Regions from separate parts of the Homo sapiens genome. Here region 2 is linked to region 1. Evidence: promoter capture Hi-C in human tissues and cell types (Jung and others, 2019). All regions are on one chromosome and are shown on one strand. Each heading gives the region's core, a stretch centred on a gene start or on the middle of the fragment in contact. The rest is flanking DNA. Distances are from core to core; before and after follow the strand shown.

Region 1 (6,068 bases), core at 946-3,445:
AACTTCAAGGGTCTCTGTAACTGTCGAATTAAGCAGAAAGCTAGGGTCATATTAAGAAAAATAGTGTTCCCTTATACATTTTTCTGCTGATCATGGGAAAACATATTCTCACAGCTTCATGAATTATTTGGTCACAATTTGACAATAAAAACACTAATTTATATGTCAGATCCATGTCACATTCTCATATTAATCTAAATTTTCTTTTTTTTTTTTTTGAGACAGAGTCTTGCTGCATTGCCCAGGCTGGAGTGCAGTGGCGCGATCTCGGCTCACTGCAAGCTCCGCCTCCCAGGTTCACGCCATTCTCCTGCCTCAGCCTCCCGAGTAGCTGGGACTACAGGCGCCTGCCACCTCGCCCGGCTAATTTTTTGTATATTTAGTAGAGACAGGGTTTCACCGTGTTAGCCAGGATGGTCTCGATCTCCTGACCTCGTGATCCACCCACATTGGCCTCCCAAAGTGCTGGGATTACAGGCATGCGCCCGACCTCAATCTAAATTTTCTTGACATCCTTTTTGGTACCAGCTGAGCCCTGACAAAGGAAGGTAATTCAGAGACATTTTCTCTTGTGATCAGAGAAATAACCTAATGAGAATAAACTTATGTTGATTGGGTTTTTTTGTTTTTTGTTTGTTTTTGAGACAGGGTCTCACTCTGTCCCCTAGGCTGGAGTGCAGTGGCATGATCACAGCTCACTGTACCCTCCACCTCCTGGGCTCAAGCCATCCTCCCAGCTCAGCCTCCTCAATAGCTGGGACTAGAGGGTCACGACACTATGCCCAGCTAATTTTTTTGTATTTTTTGTAGACATAGGGTTTTGTCACGTTGCCCAGGCTGGTCCCAAACTTCTGAACTCAAGTGATCCGCCTGTGTCAGCCTCCCAGTGTGTTGGGATTACAGGTGTGCACCACCATGCCCAGCTGAAAATAAAATTAAGGTGAAGAAAGTTGTTCTCTGTGATCTCAGGGGAAAACCTTCAGGTAAATTTGCATTCAGATTGAATAGAAGAAACATACAAATGTGGATGAACTAGATACTACTTTAAAAGTCTTTCTAGCGCCAGGCTCAGTGGCTCATGCCTGTAATCCCATCACTTTAGGAGGCTGAGGCAGGCAGATCATGAGGTCAGGAGATCAAGGCCATCCTGGCCAAAGTGGTGAAACCCCATCTCTACTAAAAATACAAAAACTAGCTGGGCGTGGTGGCATGTGGCTATAATCCCAGCTACTCGGGAGGGTGAGGCAGGAGAATCGCTTGAACCAGGGAGCTGGAGGTTGCAGTGAGCCGAGATCACGCCACTGCACTCCAGCCTGGGTGACAGAGTGAGACACCTTTACAAAAAATAAATAAATAAAGTATTTCTGTCCACAAACCAGCTTGGAGTAGGTAGGTAGCCAGGCATGAGCAGTTAAAGGAGCCCCTGGGAAAGGAATCTTAAGAAACACAGCCCACTGACAATCCCCTTTTGACAGCAAAAGCAGGACAGTGGCTACATTGCCTACACCTGTCCTTGTGGCTGGACTTGTCTGGCCCAGGAAGGGAGTTATCTGGCCCTAGCCAGAAATAACCCAGCTAGGGGATTTTCCCTATTAAGGAGCGTGCACACTCCTCTAATAATTCATCCTAGAATGGCCTTTTGCTCATTATAATACTAAGAAACACATCCCCTTTTTTCAAATATGATTTTAGAAAAAAATAAATAAGGGCTGGGTGCGGTGGCTCATGCCTGTAATCCCAGCACTTTGGGAGGCCGAGGCAGGTGGATCACGAGGTCAGGAGATCCAGACCATCCTGGCTAACACGGTGAAATCCCGTCTCTACTAAAAATACAAAAAAAAAATTAGCTGGGCGTGGTGGCAGGCACCTGTGGTCCCAGCTACTCAGGAGGCTGAGGCAGGAGAATGGCGTGAACCCGGGAGGCGGAGCTTGCAGTGAGCCGAGATAGCGCCACCGCACTCCAGCCTGGGCGACAGAGTGAGACTCCGTCTCAAAAAAAAAAAAAAAAAAGCCACACCCCTGGGTGGAGATTTGAGATGCTAAGGAGATATGTGATGTGTGCATGGACAGTCACAGCACATTCCTGCCCAAATGACTTCCCAGAACATGCTTACTAATAATGGCTGTGCACGGCCCCTTCATGAATAATCATGTCAGGTTCTCATTAAAAGGGTCAGGCCAGCATAAGTAAGGACAGACTCCTTCTTTTCAGGAGCCCACTCGGTTCTGTCGTTCAGGGTGTCGCTTCTTTCTGAGCTCCTGTCTCTTTAAATGAAGGGCATTTACCCTTTAACTCTTTCTGCGCATCTCTTGACTGAATCCAAGAAGACCAAGAACCAGAGGACTTCCACACCCCTCTGGGTAACATCTGGTGTTTTCACCTGGTTACCTGGTTACCTCGCCTGGTTATCCAGGTAAGTACCAAAAAGCTGGTGCCAGATTCTCTGGTTGACGACCTCTGCTTCTTTCTGCACTGAAGAACCTCCTGCCCTAATGCAGATCTGGCAGCTTTAAGGGGAGGGGTTTTTCCTCTCAGGCTCTGTTCACTAACGACTGCCCAGTACCATTTCCCTTCAGCCACTGTCACTCTGCTCCCTCTGGCTGATTTCTCAGCTCACCCTGAGGGGTGATAAGCAGAGGAGGGAGGATTTAAACTCCACAGTGAGTAGATCTGAGACACATGGTGACCCTTCTTGCAGGAGGCTTGTGAAGGTGGCAGGGAATACGCCTGGCTGTGCAGTGACTGGGGAGCTTCATATTTTTTTTTGTGGGGGGGAGGACAGAGTCTCACTCTGTCGCCCAGGCTGGAGCGCAGTGGTGTGATCTCGGCTCACTGCAACCTCCACCTCCCGGGTTCAAGCGATTCTTCTGCCTCAGCCTCCCGAGTAGCAGGGACTACAGGCGTGTGCCACCATGCCCGGCTAATTTTTGTATTTTTAGTAGAGACAGAGTTTCACCATATTGGCCAGGCTGGTCTCGAACTCCTGACCTCGTGATCCGCCCACCTCGGCCTCCCAAACTGCTGGGATTACGGGCGTGAGCCACTGCGACCGGCGCATATCTTTTAATTAAAACTACAATCCGGTGTTAAGTCAGCTCTTATACTTGCCATTCATGGCCGTTCACTCCCCTGAACACCATATGCCCCCACCGTTGATTAATCTCCCAGGTCACTCTGCTTACTCTTTGCTGTCCCTCTCCTCGCCGCAGGGATTTCATGAATTCTTCCTGCGGGTGCAAGCCTCTTGCAGGGCCTGTTTATCCAGGACCTGCTGCGTTTGCTTCACTCAGGCGCCAGAGTCCTTTGAGGGCCTATGCTGATGTTTATACTTTTTTCCTCAGAAATGAGACTCAGCTTTGTCCTTTCCCTTGCCTCCTGTTTCACTGGAGGGACCGGCACTGGGAGGATGCCTGCTTAAAGAAATCCCTCATTTTGGCCGGGCACGGTGGCTCATGCCTGTAATCTCAGCACTCTGAGAGGTTGAGGGGGGTGGATCACCTGAGGGCAGGAGTTCAAGACCAGCCTGGCCAACATGGTGAAACCCCATCTCTACTAAATATACAAAAATTAGCCGGGCGTGGTGGCACACGCTTGTAATCCCAGCTACTTGGGAGGCTGAGGCAGGAGAATCGCTTGAACCCGGGAGCTGGCCATTGCAGTGGGCCGAGATCGCACCATTGCACTCCAGCCTGGGCAACAAGAGCGAAACTCTGTCTGAAAAAAAAAAAGAAAGAAAGAAATCCCTCACTTATTATTGGGTCCTTCTCCGCCTGCCTACTCTTCAAGAATGCCTCATTCTGTGACTCCTCAATGGAACTGCCTGGCTCTTCCAGAGGGTCACCTGTGACCACTTCCTTACTCCCTAGTTTCTCTGTACAACCAGGGTTTCCAATGGGCCACAGGAGACTGCTTTCTCCACCTCATTAGGCCATTGTAACAGACCCGTGAAGTACTCAGGTCCTTTTTGCTTTTTGTTGAATAAGCTGATAGAAAATGCTTCTCACATTCCCCTTGCTGTTTATGTGATCATATAATGGACTAAAAAACCAGAATCAACAGCCCAGTTCACTAACTCTGAGCCCCAGGGGGTCTTCTATGCTTTTCAAGCATTTTTTTCTGTATAAACCCCAAGGAACCTTTTAAGAGTGGGGGAAGATATCACATCTTTTCCGTTCCTGTAATCATTAGTATTAGCCCAATATCATTATGTATTAAGAAGACCTAGGCTGGGCGCATTGGCTCACGTTTGTAATCCCAGCACTTTCGGAGGCCAAGGCGGGCGTGTCACCCGAGGTTGTGAGTTCGAGACCAGCCTGATCAACATGGAGAAACCCCGTATCGGCTGGGCACGGTGGCTGATGCCTATAATCCCAGCACTTTGGGAGGCTGAGGCGGGCAGATCACGAGGTCGGGAGTTTGAGACCAGCCTGGCCAATATGGTGGAACCCTGTCTCTACTAAAAAATTAGCCGGGCCTGGTGGCATGGATCTGTTATCCCAGCTATTCAGGCGGCTGAGGCAGAAGAATCTCTTGAACCCTGGACACAGAGGTTGCAGTGAGCTGAGATCGTGCCACTGCACTCCAGCCTGGGTGACAAAGTGAGACTCCATGTCAAAAAAAAAAAGAAACCCCGTCTCTACTAAAAATACAAAAATAGCTGGGCATGGTGGTGGACACCAGTAATCCCAGCTACTCAGGAGGCTGAGGCAGAAGAATCGCTTGAACCCAGGAGGCGGAGGTTACCGTGAGCCAAGATAGCGCCACTGCACTCCAGCCTGGGCAACAAGAGAGAAACTGTCTCAAAAAAAAGGACTTTAGAAGTCCCTTCTCTGCAGAATTCAGCAGGGGCACAACTACTGGGCTTCCTGCAGAACCAAGGTCACTGGGAACATGAGAGAAGAGAAGAGAACTACTCTCATGGCAGACATTCTTCCACCCGTCCTTACCCAACACGGAAGAGTGGAAGGCATCACTGCTGGGCATCAATCCCAGGAAATCTAAGAAATCCTTCTGAGCAAAACAATAGGAAGAAATGCAAACAGCAGAGCACACAGTAGGGCTAATTCCAGAGCTCCAAGGTGAAGGACACTTCACCCTTGCAGGGAGAGGCATGAGACACCTCATTTAGGTCAAGGATTGGAATGCCTGACCTTCATGAGTCACCAAATAGGTAAAGGGACACTTCCTCTATCCTGCATTCTCTCTTGTCTTGTCTTTCAGATGGGTAATCAGATCTTTATATCCCAGGATTCCCCTCCTGGATCCCCTTGGAATCTGGGAAAAGGTTGATCCCCAGATTGTAAAACAAGAGACTGATTTTCCTTTGCAATATAGTTTGGTCAAAGGTGGGGAGCTTAAATGTTAATACCATATTCCAGCTTGACCTTTACTGCCAACACCAACACAAATGGTCAGAAGTCCCTTATGTGAAAATCTTCATGATCTCGTGGGAAAACCCTGATTTTTGTAAAGGCTGCAAAACGGGCTCAAAAGAAAAAGAAAAGGAAAGGAAACAGCCAAGGGCGGTGGCTCACGCCTGTAATCCTAGCACTTTGGGAGGCCAAGGTGGGCTGATCACCTGTCAGGTAACCAGGTGGCCAGGTGACCAGGCTGGTCAGGAGTTTGAGACCAGCCTGGCCAACATGGTGAAACCCCATCTCTACTAAAAATACAAAAAAATTAGCCGGGCATGGTGGCGGTCACCTGTAATCTCAGCTACTCGAGAGGCTGAGGCAGGAGAATCACTTGAACCCCAGGAGGCGGAGGTTGCAGTGAGCTGAGATCGCACCATTGCACTCCAGCCTGGGAGACAAGAGCAATACTACATCTCAAAAAAACAAACAAAAAAAAGGCCAGCCACAGTGGCTCATGCCTGTAATCCCAGTACTTTGAGAGGCTGAAGCAGGTAGATCATCTGAGGTCAGGAGTTCAAGACCAGCCTGACCAATGTGGAGAAACCTTGTCTACTAAAAATACAAAATTAGCTGGGCATGCTGGTACATGCCTGTAATCCCAGCTACTCGGGAGGCTTAGGCAGGTGAATCACTTGAACCTGGGAGGCGGAGGT
Region 2 (6,550 bases), core at 2,402-4,901, 52 kb after region 1:
AAAAGGATATTTCTGGCCGGGCACGGTGGTTCATGCCTGTAATCCCAGCACTTCACTTTGGGAGGCCGAGGCAGGTGGATCACCTGAGGTCAGGAGTTCAAAACAAGCCTGGCCAACATGGTGAAACGTTGTCTCTACTAAAAATACAAAAATTAGCCAGGCGCGGTGGCAGCGCCTGTTATCCCAGTTACTAGGGAGGCTGAGGCAGGAGAATCACTTGAACCTGGGAGGCAGAGGCTGCAATGAGCCAAGATCGTGCCACTGCACTCCAGCCTGGGCAACAGAGCAGGACTCCATCTAAAAAAACAAAAAAAAAGAAGAAAGGATGGAAGGGGGAGGCTTAACCTTTGCTATCTGCTAGGATTACAGGGTCAAAATCGGCTTCTACATTGTCAACACATAACACCAAGTGAAACTCAAAACTAATGAACTTGCCCTGGTACCTTGGCCTTTGAGACTCGGCACTGAATCCAGCCTGGGCAACATAGTAAGACCCCATCTATACAAAAAAATTTAGAAATTATCCAGGTGTGGTGGTGCATGTCTATAGTCCCAGCTATTCAGGAGGCTGAAGTGAGTGTGAGATTGCAGTGAGCTATGATCGCACCACTCCAGCCTGGGTGACAGAGCCTGTCTCAAAAAACAAAAAACAGAAGAAAAAAGCTTTGAAGGGCACTCAGCCTTCACTGTGGGTGTACTGAATGTTCCTGTCACACATAAGAGACATCATTAACTGCTAAAGGAAAATTTCAGCTAATTGAAAAAATGAGATGCACCAACTTCATTTCAAAGCCATATACATTTAAAATTCCCTTACAATTGTGTAATAGATCAACAATTGAAAGATAAGGAAACAAGGCATTAGTGATGCACATGCTCCAATGAGACCCCGATATCATACAAGGTAACACTCCAAACTATTTTATCTTCCAAAATGCATCCGAAAGCTTCTTGATCTACAACACAAAATACTCCAAAATACCAAAGGTAACCCAGAAATTTATCTCTGAGATTTTCCCTATAATTCCTCTATTTTAAAAAGTATTCTTTATGTTTAAGGGAATGGTTGGCGACCTAAATTACCAGATACCGTTCCTCCACACACCCTGGTCCAGGGTCCTTGAAACGCCCCTGGACCTAAGCCCAGAGTTCTCTTTCTTCCATCCCGGTGCCTGGCAAATAGAAATGGAAACGATGTTCCGATCGTTGTCACTATGAAACTGAACACAGCACAAGTAGAAATTTCACCTTCGTTTCATCCTCTAAACAGACAAATCAGGTCCCGGATTAATTAAACGGTTCTAATTGCCAGTTCCAGGATGAAACCACTGCCCCACAGGGACCATCCGCTGATGCCCCTGCACCCCTCCTGGTACCCTGAGCTAAGATGAGTTGTGATCCTCTTAATGGTAGGATGCCTGTCTCCACCTGCAAACAAAATGAGTTTTTCACTTAAATCGTTTTCAATGTAAGAGTAAAAAAACCTTAGCCTTCAATTAAGTGGCCCAGTACCATTCTGTTCTTTTGCCTTAAATTGTTTGAAATGTTGGATTAACTGAAAATAAGCAGGAAGCGTCCCTGGACTGAAAATAAGCCGGAAGCATCCCTGCTTATTAACTGAAAATAAGCAGGAAGCATCCCCGGCTAATTTCAATTAGCTGAAACTTTATTTTAGCAGTGCAATGCTGTTGATCCAGTCCTAGTGGAGAGAAAGGCTGACATAGCAGAAAATGACCTGGGGCCAAGAGGAGTAGAGAGCCCAGGCCCGCTCCTTTCCCGGCCCTGCCCGCTTCCCACAGCCCAGGCTGCACCATAGCAGCTTCCACCCTCCCATCCCGCCGCCCTCTTCCAGCCCTTTCCCGTTGCCCAGACCCCAGCCCAGGGCGACTTTTACCCTTCTCACCCCACCCCTTCCCCACTGCCCAGGCCCCGCCCCCACGGTAGTCCCACCCTCCCACCCCACCCTCTTCCACCCCTTTCCCATTGCCCAGACCGCACCCCAGGGCGACTTTCACCCTCCTCACCCCGCCCCCTCCCCACTGCCCAGGCCCCGCCCACAGCAGTTCCACCCTCCCACACGACCCTCTTGCACCCCTTTCCCATTGCCCAGACCCCACCTCACGGTGGCTTCCACCCTCCCCACCTGGCCTCTCCCCACTATCCAAGACCCGCCTCTCGCTGGCGACAGCTCCCTCCCAGAATCCGCTTCCAGTTTTCTCACCGGCAGGAGAGCATTCAGGCCTTTCAGGGCACTCCAGCCCTGTCCAACCACACTCGGAATCCACCATCCCACCAGACGTTAAAATCCCCAGGTGCGCTCATGGGATTGGTAGCGAGTCCCAGCGTTTCCGCGGGAAACTCTGAGACCCGGTGGCTCTGCAGCTTGTCTATGATTTGAACCCTCCCCTTGATTTGGAGACTGGATTGCTCTTTTTAATACTCCCAGTTGGTGGCTGGTGTGCTTCCCAGCTGTCCGCAGGTTTGTTCTCATGAGAGATGACTCCAGAGTGTCTAGTCTTTGCTTTGCATAACGGATGAGGAATACAAAATGTCTTAATCTTATGAATATATAAATTGTCTGTTTATGCACAATGTTCAGTCGTTTATTCACTCATCTCCCGTGGAATCCTAAGCACAATTATAAAAGAGTCACGTTACATGAGATCAGCGTCTAACACAAAGCTTCTGTCTCAATAACAGTAAATAATAATAGCAACATTAAATGAAATATTAGTATTGCTAAAATGGGAGTGTAGTAAAAATTAAATAAGTAAATAATTAAAAGGAAATGATATATGGTCAGGTGCGGTGACTTATGCTTGTAATCCCAGCACTTTGGGAGGCCGAGGTGGGCAGATCATATGAAGTCAGGAGTTCAAGACCAGCTGACCAACATGGTAAAACCCTGTCTCTACTAAAAATACAAAAAAATGACCCAGGAGTGGTGGCACATGCCTGTAGTCCCAGCTACTCCAGAGGGTGAGGCAGGAGAATTGCTTGAACTCAGGAGACAGAGGTTGCAGTGAGCTGAGATCGCACCACTGCACTCCAGCCTGGGAGACAGAACGAGACTCCGTCTCAAAATAAATAAATAACTGAATGAATGAATGAAATATTAGGCCATTTTTATGGTCTTCACTTTGGGAGACTGATGTATGCAGGGGTGGACTGCATGTTTGTCCTTGGGGTGGTCTTTTTCGTGAGAAGGGAGCTGAGCAGGACTAACTGAGGGGCAGAGCCAAGGGCCCTTCATGGAGACCACTCTGCTTACCAACCTGTGGAAGGGCAAGCGCAAGTCCACCCAGAAACACATCTGGCTGACTATGGGATCCCTGTCTGAGGCTCAGCAGACCCACGTGGCCAATAAAAGACCCTAAATTCTGCAAAAAGAAGAGTTTGTCTCTGTGCCCAGGCCCCTCCATGGAAAAAAGGTCCTGGGGTCTAAGATTTCTCACTTGGCAATGATGTTGGCTTGAATATTATTCACAGACCCAGATCCTTGGGTCTTGCGTGGGGCAAACTGACTGCAGAACTGCAGGAAGTGAGAGTCTGAACAGAGCAGCAGAAAGGCAGGCAGGAGACCTGAGGGAGGGGAGAAAGGAGAGAGACAAACAGACCAACCCGTCCTCTCCCTCAATCACCCGCCTGGGGAAGCATTAGTTTCCCATCATAGAGAGGACAACGGGGAAAGGGAGAAGCGTGTGCATAGGATGAGATGTGTGTTGGGTGGACAGAAAGACTCCTTTCCCTAAATGTGACCCCATTAGCTCACCCCATTCTATTGCACAAATTCCTGAGCGGAGGGGCACCCTGTGGGGATGAACACAGCTCTTCCTGCCTCCAGTTCCTGCGTCTCCCTGCCATGACCAGGGCTGTAACCCTCCAACTCCCTTCCCAGGGCCCCGTGGCCCCTCTGCACTGGAGAAAGGTCCATGTTCCACAGCGGGTTTCAAGGACCTTGCCCCTCAGCTCCCCAGCTGCCTTGTGACTCTGTGACTCTGTTATCTTGGAATAAACAGGGAGAGGCCACCGGCCTGGCTGCAAGAATGTGGCAGCTTTATCTTCCCAAGGACAGTCCCAGTGGAAGCCTTTGGGCCGCAGGTCAGTGTGCTGTGTTTCACTCTGATTCTTGGAGAAATCTTTCCCTTACTCTGGGACCCTGATAATCACTCCCTCTTGAGTTGCACCCACAGACGCCCCCACAACAAACCCTCCCTAATGAAAGCCATCTGCGCCTGATTCTTAGGATCCCCGTTGCCCTCTGGACTCAGACACGCTTACAAACTCCCACACTCCCCATATACTTCATAAAGATCCCACAATCCCCAGATACTTCATAAAGATCCAGAAGCCCTGTTATGAAATCTCACAAGCCCCAGTAACTCATGGAATAATATACACAAACACCCCAGGAACTCACTGACCCAGGGCAACGTATTTCCACTCATAGTGACTCCACCCCACAGGGGAATACCACTGAAACCTACCAATAAAACAGAGATGTCTCTAATGATGCAATTAGACCCCAACATCAGGAAAGGAAACACTCCAAATGATCATTTCATCTTCCAAAACACAACTGAAAGCTTATTGATCTGCAACTGAAAATACCCCGAATGCCAAAGGCAACCCAGAAAATAATCTCTGAGATTCTTCCTATCTTTCCTCTATGGGTTTCAGGATGGTTTTTGCACTTCCCAAAGCCTCCACAGAAATCACCCCGTGGAGCGGATGCTGTGGAGCAGCTCTGGGATCCACACCCTCAGGCCAAGGCGCCCATCCTCCTGCTGCTGAAGCTCCCTCTGGGCTCAGCTTAGGTCTTGGTTCTAAGTACACTTCGGGATGTTTTTCTCTGCCTGATTCCACTGCCTTCAGTCCTCTTCACTGTGATGATGAGTTTCCGAATTAAATTCCTGCATGCAAATCTCTGTGTCAGCATCTGTTTCCCAGGTAACCTGAGCTGAGACATCAGGGCATTACAAAATGATCCTGCAGCCCCACAACCACCCCAAAACCCACTTCCAGGTGCTACAGCCAGACCTGAGACTTCTTTCCAAGTGTGCCACACATCCCGTGAGCCCACAGTCACCTGTGGGCCAGGTGCATGCAGCATTCATCCAGCTCCTCTAGAGGCTCAGCATTGCTTCCACGCCTCACTCCACACCTCTAAGGACTTCTTCACCTGTCCCCATTTTTCTACTTCTCTTCCAGCCTGAGAAGCACACTGGATTGAAAGGCCTCTGGACACAAGCGATGCGGCAGGAATGGACACAAACTGCTATCTGCAGGACAGTGGGCCTCAAGTCTAGATTCTAGAAGTTGGCCATGCTGGAAGGAATTGCCCCCAATTTGGGGACACCATGGAATCCAGTTTAAAGGCAGGTGAAGATTGGCCGGATTGAGCTGGCGGAGGATGTCCAAGAAAAAGAGAGGCCCCAGATCTCATGAGGGAGGCTGCCATTGTCCCCTTGTCTCTCCACTCACAGTCCCCTGCAAAATTCCCCCGCTGTTTAGGGAGTGCCTCCTTCATGGCCCACTTAGCTTCTGAACTTCTCGCCACCCTTCCTGAAGGGAATCCAGGACCCCTGACTGCGAGCGCATCACCTGCTGGAAGGCAAAGCCCCTGCCCAGGATGGCCACCGGGCCCCGGTGATGTGTAGAGCGCGGAAGACCCGGGAGCTGGAGTAAGGCGGTGGGGACGCCTCGGCACTGGCTGAGGACACAGGGTCTGCGGGGCTTTTCAGGCCTCAGTGAGGCCTTCTGCTCTTACATAGACTGGAATAAATAGCCACAGGAAGTTTAGACCAATTACGGATGAAATTTCCAGAATATGAGACCATCCTCACTACCCGCCCTATCCTTTTGGTCTTCCCTGAGGACTCCTCAGCCCGACCCCAGCCCCAGCATCTGAACCACAACCCCAGAGCAGGTGCTGCAGTCGTCCCGTGGCCAAGATGGAGACACAAAACACTCAAAATAATCCATGCAGAAGAGTGTCCGATGTGGTGATGGATGCGGAGACAGTGAAACCTGAGTAACGTGGTAGAGACTGACAGGCAGAGAGAATTTCAGATGGGGGTGCAAGAGGGTGGAAGACAGCTCTGAGGCTAGACCCGAAGGAGAAGAAAGGGACAGAGCTGTGATGATTTGGGGACATAGGGTAAGAGGAGGGACAAAGACTGAGACAGGAAAGGTTTTGATGTTTGGGAAAAGAGAAAAACAAATGTGACTAGGGCAGAGGGAGTCATGAGATGAGGGCAAGCTCCCAGGAGGAGGCTGGACACTGGCAGGGGCCCTGGACGCAGGGCTGTGGAGCCACAGTGAGGAGTTGGGCTTTTGTCCTGGGGAACACGGGAAGCCGGTGGAGGGTTCCCTACCAGGGACTGACATGACTGCTTTAGATTTAGCCATAACTCTAATGCAGAGAAAGGCCTCCAAAGATGGTCTCTCTGCCTCTGAGTCTACACCCCAGCTTCCATCCTTGTGGTTTTGGTTTTGTTTTGTTTTAAATTTTAAAGGACTGAGTCCCATTTAAATTTTTAATTGCAGT

What was found. The method cuts DNA at HindIII sites, captures the fragments that hold promoters and counts their contacts. A contact is called where the count stands out against the background at its distance.
Region 2: a contact is called between a fragment that was not itself captured here and the fragment with the promoter of ERVV-2 in region 1, in 1 of the 25 tissues and cell types used here (lymphoblastoid cells).

Annotation. Positions count from the first base shown.
Region 1 is chr19:53,042,545-53,048,612 of GRCh38, forward strand. ERVV-2 (endogenous retrovirus group V member 2, envelope) reads left to right here and starts at 2,196. Exons shown (of 2, transcript NM_001191055.2): 1 at 2,196-2,414. The HindIII fragment of the contact is 12,011 bases long and covers 1-6,068 here.
Region 2 is chr19:53,093,139-53,099,688 of GRCh38, forward strand. The region is part of intron 1 of ZNF160 (zinc finger protein 160); the gene reads right to left. Among named protein-coding and RNA genes, the nearest start is that of ZNF160, 7.0 kb to the right of the region's middle. The HindIII fragment of the contact is 5,693 bases long and covers 806-6,498 here.